Linked DNA regions of Homo sapiens: regions 2 and 3 are each linked to region 1. The links are contacts of gene promoters, found by promoter capture Hi-C in blood cells and fetal thymus (Javierre and others, 2016). All regions are on one chromosome and are shown on one strand. Each heading gives the region's core, a stretch centred on a gene start or on the middle of the fragment in contact. The rest is flanking DNA. Distances are from core to core; before and after follow the strand shown. Region 1 holds the start of LAMA5 (laminin subunit alpha 5). Region 2 overlaps SS18L1 (SS18L1 subunit of BAF chromatin remodeling complex). Region 3 overlaps MTG2 (mitochondrial ribosome associated GTPase 2).

Region 1 (4,737 bases), core at 1,406-3,905:
CCCCACCTTCCCAGGCTGGGCCGGCCAGGGATCCCCTGATGCCCACCTGGGGCTGTGAGGGCCACAACCTCCCCCTGCCCTCTGCCTGCTCCAGCTGCCCAGCAGGGTTCACCCCGACCCCCATCTGGGATGCCCAGCTAATGTGCATCTCCTACAGAGGGTCCCTGAGAGCCCCTGGCCTGCAGCCTTGAGAACACACTGCCCAGCCCCAGGCCCCATAGCCTTAGTGAGCCCCCTCAGATGGAGCTGCGGCTTCATCGCCTGGGCACCTCCTGTGCCTGCCTGCCTTGCCCCAACCGCAGCTCCACTCCAGACCGGCCGGCAAGGACTTCTCACACGCCCAATCCGCGGCCAGGGCGGTCAGCAGACCCGCGGCTCTCAGATGAAGGAGGCATCCAAGGTCATACCCGTCCAGCTCACGTCTACCAGCTGATCTTTCTACATATCTGGCAGCCTCAGCGGGCACTCACTGCTCAGAGCTCGAGACTTTGGAAGCGAAGGGTTCACCTCTATTGCTAGACATGAGCTGGGCGAGGCCGGCTGGTTTCTCATCCAAGCTGGCTCTGAGGCATGGAGCACCACAGCCCACAGCTGCCACTGAAACTGTGGCCACTTCCCAGGCTCCTCGGGCCAAGCTCACAGTCTCAGGTGAGGGGGGCCAGCACGCTGTGCCCATTTTAAAGACAGCTTGAGGCTGACAGAGGGAAGCCACACAGCTGAGGCAGAGGAGAGGGGCGTTGACTACAGGCTGGCCCTTTACTCACGAGACGGGGGTAATAAGCCCCCACAGAGGAGACAGATCTGAGAGGGGGCCTGTGGCCCCCAGCCACGCAGCATGGGCAGGCTGTGGGGGGGTGGTCTGAGGTTCACAGGGCACCTGGAGCCTCCCCTGCCAGAACGGCAAAATCTCAGCTGGGGACACTCAGCCAGGCCCTCTGTGGTGAGGTGTGGCAGCAGGTAAGGAGACAGTCACAGGCCCTCCGTCCTGAGACCCGGCCCCTCTGAGTTGACCAGATAAGGGGGCAGCCAGGAGGCACCCAGGTTCCCACAGCTAACCCCCGCTGGACCCTGTTCTGGCTGGGGGGCTCCAAGCAGGTGTCAGCAGCTTTCCAGGGCTCAGATCCCCCATCTGAAGTGTGGGCTTGAGACCTCCTATCTCAGAGGACTGTGCTGGGCTTAAGGAGAGAACGGTGAGCCCAGAAGCCTGGGGAGGCTCCTTCCCCCTCCACCAGGGCCAAGGGGGTGGGGCAGGCAGAGGGGGCGGGCCCAGCCCAGGCTCCTCCATTCATCCCCATAACGTCTTGCTCCAGGGCCCTCTGCCCCCACCCAGCAAATCTCCAGCTACTCGCCCCTGCCCCAGCCTCTCCTTCCGGGAAGGCAGAGGTACCAGGGAGGAGACAGCTCAGGTTACACAGGCCCTCAGGGCCCCTAGACTCTCCCTAAGGTGGGGCTGAGGTGGGGAATGGGCCTAGAGCGGCCGGTTGGGAGCCGTTGGAGCTGACTTTGCTGCTCCTCACCCAAGGCTGACCCCAGGCCCAACCTAAGTCTACAGGGCCCCAAGAGCCTTGGTTTTCAGGTGAGGTGTCCATGCATGGAGTCCACCAACAGAACCCGCCTACAGGTTTAAGGCTTGTTGGGGAGGGGACATGCACCCCAGGGGGTCTTCAGGGCCTGAACCCACATCTCCCAGGGAGACTGAAGCCCCCGGACCCTACCACCTGCTGGGCAGAGATGCTGCCCCTCCTGGGAGCCACGTGTTCCCAGCCCCAGTCAAAACTTCGCAGCTGGCCCTCCCCTACTTTGGAGGTCTCCTCGAGTCCCTAGACTCCTCCGAGAGGGGCTAGTGGGAGCCTCAGGTGGCTGGCCCCTCCCACCCCATCCAGAGGCCAACAGGTTCCAGCCTGTCCCGGGTAGGGCGGAGCTGCGCCCCCTCCCCACCGGCAGCAGGCGGCGGAGGCCAAGTCCCGCCCTCCCCGGGATCCCGGACTTGGGGCCGCCAGGGACTGGGCCCGGCCCCCCTCCCGCCCCGGTCACCGCAGTCGAACTGGACCGGCGCCCAGCCGCCCCCGGGTCCATGCCGGGGACTTTAATTCCGCCTTCCCGGAGGGACGCGAAGTTTCCCGGCCGAGACGGAGCGGCCGGGTCGGGGTGCCTTCTTGGGCCCCCAAAATGCGGAACCAGAGAGTCCGCACCTGGACTCGCCCCGGGCCACGGCGCTCCCCCTGGGGTCGGGCCGGTGTTCCGGGTCCGAGTGCCCCGGGAGGAAGCCCCACGGCCCGCCCCTGCGCTCACCCGGATGGTCTGGTTGGGGTCGCCGCCGGCCACGGGGCCCCCTACCAGCTTGCAGTAAAGGTCCTCGGTGGGGCGCGGGGAGCCGCGCGCCGGGGCCTCCTCTCCGCAGGTCGCGGAGGCGGCGATGCGGGCGCCCTCGGCCAGGTTGAAGTAGGGCGGGTGCAGGCTGAAGCCGCCGCCCGCCTCCTCCCGCGCCCGCGCCGCGCCCAGCAGCGCCAGCCCGACCAGCAGCAGCGGCGCGGGGCCCCGGGGGCCGCGAACACACAGTGCGCTCCCCGCGCAGAGCCGCTTCGCCATCTTCCCGGCTCCGGGCCGCGTCCCCGAGCTCCAGGGACAGCGCGCGCGGCGGGAGCCCGGCGGGTCTGAAGCCAGGCGGCCGGCAGGGCTCGCTCCGCCCGCGGACGTCAGGCCCCGCCCCGGCCCGCCCGAGCGCCCGAGCCCCGAGCCCCGGGGAGAGGTCCGGGGAGGCGGGGTGGGGGGGGGAAGGAGAGAGGAGGGGGAGGGGCGGCCGGGCGGCCTTAACCCTTCGGACCCCGGCCCGGCCGCCTCCCGGAAGGGGCACCTGCTGGCCTCGGGCCAGGCCGTGGGACGACGGCGCCGCCGGGCCCCCAGCCCAGGTCGTAGCTCCGGGTCCCGGGTGGGACCCTAGCGCTCCCCACGACGCCCTGGCCCCCAGAGCGCCCACCAGCTCCTCCCAGCCCAGGGGCCCACTCTTTGTTCCCCTAACTTGGGTGCACCACTCGGCTGCCCCCGCTCCTCCCCCAACAGCGTCCGTCCTGCTGGCTGCGGGAAGGTGCCCTCTGCACCCGCGAATGACCATCTGCAGAGGAACGGGGCAGCCTAGGTGGGAACCCCCTGCTTCCTGGGGCAGCCAGGTCAGGTTCAACTCGGCCTGGCTCCCGCCTGCCCCAGCAGGGCTTAAAAATACTCTCAGATAGGGAAATAGGGGCAGGAGGGACTGGCCTGCAGCTGCAGCCCCCTTTAGAGGACGGGGGCGGTGCTCATGGCCCCACAGCCGCCAAATTGGCTCTTAAGGAGGTCGGGGGCTCTGGTCACAGCTGCTGAGCACCTGCTGGGTGCCTGGAAGCACCTGTGCTCCGGGGCCCGGTGGACTCCACCAGCTCTCTCGGCCTGGCCTCCAACCCGCTGCACAGCCGCGCACGCGTTCCTGCCACGATCGGCGGCTCGAGGACGCCTGGCAAACAGCACAGGACCTAGAGGCCGAGATCAGGTCTTCGTCTGCCTTTGGGTGGCTGCGGCCCTGGGTCTCCTACTTCCCTTGGGCTCCGGGGCCAAATCTGCCTCCAGGGAAGCCCCGAGGGGGTGGCGGCGGGGTGGGGCTGCAGCTGCCGAGCTGGCAGCAAACCCCCATCCCTGAGCCAGGCCAGCTGGGCGGGCCATGGTCCCAGATGGGCTGTGGGGCTCATCTCTCGCTGGGTTCCCTGGACAGTCCCGGGGGGCTGGGTGGGTTTGTGGGGCACTGGCCAGCCGGTTCTGGTGGGGGTTCTGAGCTAGCAGCTGTCCCTGGAGGGTGCACCTCCTTGCACACCTTCCTGGCGCCCTGGCCTCCTGCAAATCTCAAATCCCAAGAGGGTGTATGGCCCTTTCTCTACGGAGTCGGGAGGGCGATGGGACCCTCTCTCCCTCCTCCTACTTTCCGGCCCGGCAATTCTTCCATAACTTCACTATTAGTTCTCCCACCTGGGGGAGGGGGGAGAGGAGGCGGCTCCCCTTGGCAGGAGAAGCTCCAAGTGGGGGAGGGGCTGGCTGGAGAGGGGGCGGAGACATCAAGGAATCTGCAGTCCAGGCGCAGAGTCCGGCTCTGAGCTGCTTTAGATCCCGTGTGAGGCAGAGAGTGGCCTCTGGGCAGTAGCGGGTCCCCAGGTGGGGGCTTGGCCCCAGGCAGTGTGCTCTGGCTCTGGGCTCCCCCTTGACAGCTTGGGGCTCTGACAGCCTGGGGGACTGGAGGTGGAGACTCCTGAGACCCTGAGGGCTTCTTGGGATCCCTGGAGGGTCGGGTGGTTGGAGGGGTGGGATTGCGAGTGGCGGGGCAGGGGGAGAGGTGGGGGTGGGGAGAGCACTTTAAGCCTCCTAGCGGCCAGATCAGGCCAAGCTGCCAGGCCTCCGCTGTCCCCCGGCACTGGCCAGGAGGGGAGCGGGGGCCGGCCCTGAGAATGCGCTGTGTCAGCCGGAGCTGCCAGCACCAGCAGGGTTAATCACCGGGCTCACTGCTTCCCGGCAGACAGCTGCCCCGGGAGCAACTGGCAGGCAGGCGGGCAGCGCAGTGGACAAGAGAATGTGGCCCAGGGGCTGGGTAAAGAGCCCACACTCTGCCCCCACCCTGTGTCTGCTGGTGCACGGACTGGGAAGGAGGCAGCTGGGGCAGGAGCTGAGCGTATGGAGGGCGGGGGGGCTGTCCCAGCCGGGCTACACACAGGGGGTTGG
Region 2 (4,737 bases), core at 1,357-3,856, 190 kb before region 1:
TGGTGACTCTGAGGTGGCTGGAGGTGTTAGGGACACTTTACACTGCCAGTGAAATTTCAAAGCACTACATCGCTCAAGTTTGTTTTTCTCAGGGAATTGGGTAGGTAAGAGGCCAAAGACTGTTTTTTAAATGCTTCTCGTCCTCCTTCTTCAAGAGGGCAAAGGGTCACCAGGTAGATGTAGAGAAGCCTAAAGACCATGTAACACAGTCTCCCTGCCAGGGCACCGTACTCGGCCATGCCTGGGAAGGGCACGCTGATGAGGCATTTACACAGATGTCAGGAGGGCTCTGGTGTGCTCTCAGGACACTGTGAGGCCACTGTAGCCGACGCAGGGGCCGCCTCTCCCCAGTGTGTGCTGGGCGCTGGTCAGCGGGGAGCAGGCCCCAGCTTGGCCCTCCAGGTTTGCACAGGAGTGTCATGCTGGAGTCTGGAAGGACAGCAGTCTGCATCCTGATGTTAAATTAGAATTATATGTGAATGATTCTGATGAGACGCCATACCTCCTTCATACAGTCCTGAAAATAACTTATTTGGATTTTGTGAAATAAGTGAATGTCCTAACTTAATTATAAGACTGAACCAGAGGACATATAACTTTATACCTACCTATGAAAAGACCGTGACCGGTCGTGGTGGCCCATGCCTGTAATCCCAGCACTTTGGGAGGCCAAGGCAGGAGGATCACTAGAGCCCAGGAGTTTGAGACCAGCCAGGGTAACATAGCAAGACCTGTCTCTACAAAAAATAAAGTAGTCAGGCATGGTGGTGCATGCCTGTAATCCCAGCTACTTGGAAGGCTGAGGCACGAGGATCCCTTGAGCCCAGGAGGTCGAGGCTGTAGTGAGTCGTGATTGCACCATTACACTCCAGCCTGGGCTACAGAGAGCGAGACTTTGTCTTAAAAAAAGGAAAAAGAAAGGCCAGGCGTGGGGGCTTACACCTGTAATTCCAGCACTTTGGGAGGCTGAGGCGGGTAGATCACCTGCAGTCAGGAGTTGGAGAGCAGCCTGGCCAACATGGTGAAACCCCATCTCTGCTAAAAATACAAAAATTAGCCGGGTGCCTGTAAGCCCAGCTATTGGGGAAGCTGAGGTGGGAGAATCGCTTGAACCGGGAAGGCAGAGGTGAGTTGAGATCACGCCACTGCACCCCAGCCTGGGCGACAGAGAGACTCCATCTCAAAAAAAAGAAAAAGACACAGAGCAATGGGGAAGATAGAGAATAGAATTTCACATCTGGGGGGAAATGTGTCCATCTAACTGCAAAATATTAAGATAGCCTTTAGTCAGCATCCAGTGTAGCTGGCCGTGGCGCTTTGGCACAGCACTGCCGGCGCTGGGCGTCTCCTAGGGGCCATTGTGCACACTGTGTTATGTTTGCAGCACCCCTGGCCTCCACCACGATGCCAGTAGCACCCCCATTGCCCAGTCTGACAATTTAAAATGACTCCAGACATTGTCAGATGCCCCAGGGGCAAAACTGTCTCCGTTTGAGAACCACTGGGCTACACTTAAACATGTGCTGAGGCGGCCAGGCGCTGTGGCTCACGCCTATAGCACTTTGGAAAGCAGAGGCGGGCGGGAGCAGATAGAGACGGAGGTTGCAGTGAGCTGAGATCGCGCCATTGTATTCCAGCATGGGCAACAAGAGCGAAACTCTGTCTCAAAAAAAAAAAAAAGGTGCTGAGGCATTGGGGCTGCCAGTGGTTTTATAGGGCTCCAGGGCTGCCATGCCTTCAGCTGAGCAGCTCTGGATTTGAGGCTTTCCGTCTTACCCAATGGTGCAGGAGCAGAAAGACATCAGAACAGACTCCCACTAACTAGAATCATCACAGGCAGCTCTGGGAATGAGAATGTGACGTGTTCGGTCAGGCTGGAACAGCTTTCCTCCCTCCCCCACTTCCTCGCTGGGGGCATTCGGGAAATCTGATCATTAACTAGCTGGGGACACATGGAGAACAGGCATGCAGATGATGATCCGTTGTCTTCCCCTGTGGCAGTCTCCCGAGTGGCTTTCACCACAGGTCCGATGCTCCGTTTTGCTGCCCAAGGAATTCTGCCTTGTGGCCTTGTGGGGCACAGGCTCTCTAGTTTCTCTTCTTCATGTTGTTTTTTGTTGTTGTTTTTGAGATGGAGTCTTGCTCTGTTGCCCAGGCTGGAGTGCAGTGGCACGATCTCGCTCACTGCAGCCTCTGCCTCTCGGGTTCTAGCAATTCTCCTGCCTCAGCATCCGGAGTAGCTGGGATTACAAGCACGTACTATCACACCTGGCTAATTTTTGTATTTTTAGTAGAGACAGGGTTTCGCCATGTTGGCCAGGGTGGTCTCGAGCTCCTGACCTCAGGTGATCCTTCCAAAGTGCTGGGACTGTAATCCTACAGGCATGAGCCACTGTGCCTGGCCTTTTTTTTTTTTTTTTTTTTTAAGACAGGGTCTCACTCTGTCGCCCAGGCTGGAGTGCATTGGCAGGAACATGGCTCACCGCAGCCTCAACCTCCGGGGCATGCGCCACAACATGTGGCTTATTCTTTTTTTTTTTTTTTTTTTTTTTGAGACAAGGTCTCACTCTGTCACCCACACTGGAATACAGTGGCATGATCTCGGTTCACTGCAACCTCCACCTCTCAGGCCCAGTGATTCTCCTGCCTCAGCCTCCCAAGTAGCTGGGATTACAGGCACGTGCCACTACCACCTGGCTAATTTTTTTTTTTGTATTTTTAGTAGAGATGGGGTTTCACCATGTTGGCCAGGCTGGTCTTGAACTCCTGACCTCAAATGATCCACCCACCTCGGCCTCCCAAAGTGCTGGGATTGCAGGCGTGAGCCACTGTGCCTGGCCGAGGCTAATTTTTTCTCTTTTTTTGTAGAGATGGGGTCTTGCTGTACTGCCCAGGCTGGTCTCAAACTCCTGGGCTCAAGCAGTCCTCCTGCCTCGGCCTCCCAAATTCAGATTTGTTTTTGAAACAGGGTCTCACCCAGACTAGAGTGCAGTGGTGCAATCACGGCTCACTGCAGCCTTGACCTCCTGGGCTCAAGCGATCCTCCCACCTCACCCTCCAAGTATCTGGGACTATTGGCACACGCCACCACACCCAGCTAATATTTGGATTTTTGTAGAGATGGAGTCTGGCCATGTTGCCCAGCCTGGGTCTTTAGATTTTTTTTTATAGATTGAAACCCATCACCCTGGTCGTCCCCGCTCCCATTTTCTTACTGTAGCAGGCTCGGGGGCAGATGGTGTTTGCATTGGCTCCCAGTGGGGCCAGCTTGGAGGAGAGCCTTCCTGCATAGCAGGCCCAGCATAAGGCTCTGATGCCAGGCCTGGCACAGGCCCGGCCGCAGCGATGCCAGTGTGTGACTGAACAAATGAACCTTTGGCCCTGTCTACGTTGTTAGCCCCAGGCTTGGCCAGTGGCTTCTGGAAAGTCGTTCGCTGCCCCGCAGAGATGTGAGCAGAGGTTGTTTGCTTGCTGTTGTCCCTCCTACCCCCTGTCCGGGCTGGGGTGGACGTCTGTCTTCCTTTCACTCATTACTATAGGGGTGTAATCTGTGTCTTGATCTCTTTTAGGGCCAGTATGGAAATTACCAGCAGTAAGGGACACACATTCTGGCTGGAGCCCTTGTGGTAGCGTGTTCATCCAGGGGCCGGATGGGCTGGCGGCAGCTCTGGTGAATTGTGACATGTTGGTTACCTGTTCGCCCAGTGCCACGTCTGCATGTGAAGCGTGCTCATTTCATGCTGGGTATGACGCCGAGCGCACACCACTGGCGTGAGACAGCGCTTGGTGGTGTGATACTTTTGGTGCTGTGTATAGTATTGTATGTCGGTACACGGAGAGGTATCCTTTTTTTGTCCCCCGCCCCCTTCTCAATGTTTCTAGCTAGCTTTGGGGGTCATTTTGTCATCAGAGCATTCTGTGCCCAGGGACAGGACAGATCTCGAGGACACCACAGTCCACCTGTTCCCGTCAACAGACGTTAGGTCTCATTTTCCTCCTCATGCAGTGTTGTAGTGTGGGTTGTCAACTTTTCTTTAACTGGCTACGCCACAGCTGGACACACATGCAGCCCCTGGAGGGCAGCCTCTTCCTGTGCCTCGATGGGGTGGGTGGGAGGGCATCTTCTGTGCGTTGGGTCAGTTTCTGTTACGTAACGAAAAGGATAAACATCTCCCACGGGAGAGGCCACAGATGGCCACTTCCAGAGCTTGCCCATTGCCTGTCTCTCGCCAATTCCGTTTATCCAAAAAGGTACATGTTTTTGTATTAAAAAGTAAACAGGGATCAGTGACTGTATTCCAAATAAATATGAATCCCTAAGGGCCGTGGACAAATTGCCTAACCCAGGGCCAGCGGTATTGCTGAAGGAAAGGGGCAGCTCTCTGGGAAGTGGGCCCTCAGAGATTACTCTGGCTTTGACCCTTGTTTAGCTGATGGTCATTTCTGGGATTGGAATATTTAATAAGCCCAATTCTAAGTTGATAGGTAATTTTAAATATTCAAACCAAATCTTCCCAACAGTTGGCAAGTTGTTTATTTTATATTATTTCTTCCAGGACCTACTTGCTCAGATCTCCAAGCAAGCATTTCTTTTCTTTTAGGGATGTCTGAAAGTCACATCCAGTTACATTACTGTGTTCTTTCTAATGAAAAGTAAAGGTTTTATATAGAGAAACTTGAGTAATTTTTACATTTCTAAGACATTAAATCCCATTTAAATTCTGTGTGAACATTAAA
Region 3 (4,737 bases), core at 575-3,074, 170 kb before region 1:
CTGCAACCTCCACCTCCCATATTTAAGTGATTCTCCTGCCTCAGCCTCCCAAGTAGCTGGGATTACAGGCGTGCGCCACCACGCCCAGTTAATTTTTTTGTATTTTTAGTAGAGACGGGGTTTCACCATGTTGGCCAGGCTGGTCTCGAACTCCTGATCTCAAGTGATCTGCCCCCCGCCCCACCTTGGTCTCCCAAAGTGTTGGGATTACAGGCGTGAGCTACTGCACCTGGCCCTAATTTAAACAATTTTCATCAGCCTGTTCTCTATGAAAATCAGGTTCCCACCCCATCCCCTAGGAATCTGTCAGTTACAGTTCAGAAACCTGCATTGAAATTCCAGCCGAGGACAGTATTTCTTCCCACTCTATTTGTCCCCTCTCATCTGTGGAAGCTCAGCAGCATCACAACACGTGACTTAAAAGCTTTCCTTGTGCCGTTTGAGAGAATAAAACTTTTTCCCAGAAGACAATACACCCATTAAAAATAGTAAGCCTGCTGGTAAGGTTATTTGGATGGCACTTTATATCTGCAGAGTACTCTACATGTAAATTTCTATCAGTAATCAAATGATTAGTAGAGTACAGGCAGCCATTTTCCTCTTTTTTGAATCCTATTAGAAGCAGAAAGAGAAGGTATGAAATGTACTCTACTAGATAGATCCATCGCCACGCTGGTCTCCCAAACATCTCCAAGCATTGAATTCCTCAGGTGTCAGTTGGCCCAGTGAATCACCCAGGTGCTAAATCAAATGGCTTCAGTTCAAGGCGTTCCTTGAAAGGAAAGTGTTAGAACTCAGGAAATCCGCCTTCGCAGTGGGCTCCAGGCCTTCTCTCCCAGGCTCGAGGTGGAAGGCGCTCTTGGGTGCTGGGTGTGCCAAGTGGTCACCTCGTGTGCCCCTGTCTTCCCTGCAGTGGCCGACATCCCCGGCATCATACGAGGCGCCCACCAGAACAGGGGTCTGGGGTCCGCCTTCCTCAGGCACATCGAGCGCTGCCGCTTTCTCTTGTTCGTGGTGGATCTTTCTCAGCCTGAGCCGTGGACTCAAGTTGACGATTTAAAATATGAACTGGAGATGTATGAAAAGGGCCTGTCTGCGAGGCCCCACGCAATCGTCGCAAACAAGATTGACCTCCCTGAAGCCCAAGCCAATCTGTCCCAGCTCCGGGATCACTTGGGACAGGAGGTCATCGTGCTGTCGGCGTTGACCGGCGAGAACCTGGAGCAGCTGCTGTTGCACCTGAAGGTGCTGTATGACGCCTACGCGGAGGCCGAGCTGGGCCAGGGCCGCCAGCCGCTCAGGTGGTAGCCACGCCAGAGCGGGGTCGCCTCTGGGCCTCTGTCTGAGCAAACCTGGGTGTGAATTCGGTGGTTTTGAATGCATAAAGTGCCTTGTGGACACGGGGGAGTTGTGGTGCTTCTGGGTCTCTGGGCCCCGCCTGCTGGCCTGAGATGCCCTCATGTTGGGAAGCATTCCGTGCCCCCTACCCCGCCTGCCCTCCGTATTTCCTGCACCTGTCAGCCTGCACCGACTGATGAGCCAGTTGCTCATTTGTGCTGATTAACACCCCTAATAAGGGGTTGGGGTGCCCATAACGGGGTGGCCCTGCCGCTGACTCAGGTCTCCGCCATGCACGCGTGGACTCTCGGATGAGCTCAGCAGAACCGCACAGCCAGAGCCCCAGGTCAGAAGTGCAGACCAGGGTTCTCAGCACAGTGCCCGTCGTGCTTCCATGGCTTGCTACGGAGAGAGACCTCTGGATCCACACTGGGGCTGCGTCTGGCCCGTTGTCCAGCAGCCCTGCGGTACCGCAAGCCCAGGCACCAGTGTCTCGGGGGGCCTCACTGCTGCGCAAGGGGTGGGGCCGAGGATGCAAGTCCAGGCAGAGCGGCGCAGGCAGCTGTGAGCTTTTCTCCATCAGCCGTCTGAGAAGAGCAGTGAGGCCAGCTGCTTCCTGTCCTTCAGAACACTTCTCTGTGCTCAGTGGGAGCCAGGAAGCCTCAGGCTTCACGACTGAATGCACCCAATATCCGACCTGGCTGCGTGTTTCTGGCTGGGCTGCCGTGTGCACAGCAAGTTAACTAGAGGGGCTGTGGGCCATGGAACTGTCAGCGTTATTCTCAGAAGGCGGCCGTGGCATGGGCAGGGTATAGTGAGGAGTGGAAGGAGACGTGTGCCTGGTAATATGGGGCGGAATTTCCACTCAGCTCCATTTGCTGGGGATTTAAAGAGAACCCTTGTGCTACGCCAGGCAGTTACCGAGCCGAAGGGAGATGATGGGCCTTCGCCCCTCAGTGGGATGGCAGCTGAGGGGGCCCTGCATTTGACCGTCGAGACTGCAGCAGCGCCTTTCCTGTCTGTGGTTTAAGTCTTTGCAGTCAAGTACTGATGCATCCAAGCCAGGCCCATGCCTGGTGTCTCCCTGACTGCAGAGGAGCCCCAGGGCAAGGACAGCTCAGCTGCTGGCAGCCTGCCTGGCCCATAGACATCCCCCAAGTAGTCTCAGGCCTCTGACATGTCCCTGAGGGGCCCCTAAGAAAGAAAGTGGAGGGGACACTCCAGAGGCTGTCGTGGGAGGATCATGTGAGCCTGGGAGGTCAAGGCTGCAGTGAGCCGTGATTGCACCACTGCACTCCAGCCTGAGTGACAGAGCGAGACCCTGTCTCAAAAAACAAACAAACAAACAAACAAAAACAGAACATTCTGGGCACGGTGGCTCATGCCTGTAGTCCCAGCACTTTGGGAGGCCGAGGCTGGTGGATCACAAGGTCAGGAGATTGAGACCATCCTGGCTAACACAGTGAAACCCCGTCTCTACTAAAAATACAAAAAAATTAGCCAGGCGTGGTGGCGGTCACCTGTAGTCCCAGCTACTCGGGAGGCTGAAGCAGGAGAATGGCGTGAACCTGGGAGGCGGAGCTTGCAGTGAGCCGAGATCACACCACTGCACTCCAGCCTGAGCGACAGAGCAAGACTCCATCTCAAAAAAAAAAAAAAAGTGGAGGGGACAAAGAAGCAGAGAAGGATGATCAGAAGGGGACCCCCAGCCCTTGGAGGAGAGACGGCAGCCTCAGGTGAGATGAGCCGCAAGGGTCCGGGGCCGCGTCTCTGCACGCTGGGGTGGGGCGCGCTTTGCACAGCAGGCCGGTGCCTGGGCTTTCAGGAGCAATTCCGTTTTGATCTCACATCAAATCTGCAGCTAGAACATGACAGTCCTTTTACCCGAAGCTTTATTTTAATGTCTTATAATTTCAAAGGTCCTTCTATCCTAGAAACCAGAGATGGGTTTTGCATCTATTTGCTTTTTCTTTCAGGCCGCCACAAAGGATTTTGTGGAGTCGCCCCAGGCCTGACGGCGTTAATTATCCCTGGCTTTCATCTTGATGCTCTTGCAGGGGAGGCTCAAGATGCCTTGTGGCTCGACCCCTGCACGGAGCCCCCAGCCCAGCCTCCCCGTGGGTTGAAACCTTGATCTGGGCCTGACTGTGGCTGCTCTGGGGACATGCCCTCGTCCTTTGCTGAAGCTGAGGCTCCAGAGGGGGAGTCACTGCCACGAAGGTTGCCCAGAACTTTCCTTGCTGCAAAAAGCCCCAAGACTTCTCCCTGCCACACACACAGCTTTTGCCATCGCGTTCTAAAAGCTGACAGCTTTCTCTCCAACACTGTTCTCCCTGAGTAGGGTAAAGCTACACTTGGCTTCCCCAGTTTCCTGTTTCCTGCCTAGAAACAAATTTTTGTCAGTCTGCTTTTCAAATGGGATATATGATTCACATACCATAAAATTCACCACTTTATATAATTCAGTGGTTTTTTTGTATGTTCAGAAGGTTGTGCAACTGTCAAACTGCAAATTCCAGAACGTTTTCATCACCCCGAAAACAGACCCTGTGCCCGTTAGCGTGAACCCGCCTTCCCCCTCCCCCGGGCACCCACCCGTCTACCTTCTGTCCCCAGGGACCTGCCTTCCAGACAGATCCTGTAATTGGAGTGTACACTATGTGGCCGTCTGTGCGGGTCTTTAGTAGCCATGCCTGAGGCGGCCGACACCGCAGTCTTTAGTTACGGAAGGGACCGCGGGTGCAGGCCAACCCCCCCACAGTCAGCATGTGTGGGCTGCCTTGGACACAGGGTCTCTGTGTATCCCCAGCAGCCTCAGAACACCTGACCCAGAGACGGCGTCAGTAAGCGCTGGCAGGTGCACGGAGGATGGCGCTGGCATGAGGAGCCTTCAGGCTGCTCCTAGTTTTAAACTATTTTTACTTTTGTTTTTATTTTTTTAAGACAGAGTCTCACTCTTTCGCCCAGGCTAGAGTGCAGTGGTGCGATCTCGGCTCACTGCAACCTCTGCCTCCTGGGTTCAAGCGATTCTCCTGCCTTAGCCTCCCAAGTAGCTGGGATTACAGCCTGCACCACCACGCCTGGCTGATTTTTGTATTTTTAGTAGAGACAAGGTTTCACCATGTTGGCCAGGCTGGTCTCGAACCCCTGACCTCAGGTGATCTGCCCACTTTGGCCTCCCAAAGTGCCGGGATTACCGGCATGAGCCACTGCGCCTGGCCTGAAACTCAGTGTGTGTGTGTGTGTGTGTGTGTGTGTGTGTGTGTGTGTGTGTGTGTGTGTGTGAGAGAGAGAGAGAGAGAGAGAGAGAGAGAGAGAGAGATGGAGTCTCACTCTGTCACCCAGGCTGGAGTGCAGTGGCGCGATCTCCACTCACTGCAACCTCCGACTCCTGGGTTC

The links. Contacts are between HindIII fragments. The CHiCAGO score rates a contact against its expected background, and 5 or more counts as called.
Region 2: a contact is called between a fragment that was not itself captured here and the fragment with the promoter of LAMA5 in region 1, in 1 of 17 cell types (erythroblasts). The highest score is 5.5, in erythroblasts.
Region 3: a fragment that was not itself captured here is called in contact with the fragment with the promoter of LAMA5 in region 1 in 4 of 17 cell types (endothelial precursors, megakaryocytes, M2 macrophages and 1 more); the score reaches 7.5 in endothelial precursors.

The regions. Positions count from the first base shown.
Region 1 is chr20:62,364,657-62,369,393 of GRCh38, forward strand. LAMA5 (laminin subunit alpha 5) reads right to left here and starts at 2,656. Exons shown (of 80, transcript NM_005560.6): 1 at 2,293-2,656. The coding sequence starts at 2,589. RefSeq lists enhancers at 1-62, 63-762, 1,461-2,160, 4,259-4,737 and silencers at 1-11, 2,340-2,779. The HindIII fragment of the contact is 18,996 bases long and covers 1-4,737 here.
Region 2 is chr20:62,175,613-62,180,349 of GRCh38, forward strand. SS18L1 (SS18L1 subunit of BAF chromatin remodeling complex) reads left to right here. Exons shown (of 11, transcript NM_198935.3): 11 at 3,570-4,737. The coding sequence ends at 3,596. Among named protein-coding and RNA genes, the nearest start is that of MTG2, 5.0 kb to the right of the region's middle. The HindIII fragment of the contact is 7,143 bases long and covers 1-4,737 here.
Region 3 is chr20:62,199,770-62,204,506 of GRCh38, forward strand. MTG2 (mitochondrial ribosome associated GTPase 2) reads left to right here. Exons shown (of 7, transcript NM_015666.4): 7 at 914-3,799. The coding sequence ends at 1,308. Among named protein-coding and RNA genes, the nearest start is that of HRH3, 18 kb to the right of the region's middle. The HindIII fragment of the contact is 2,804 bases long and covers 423-3,226 here.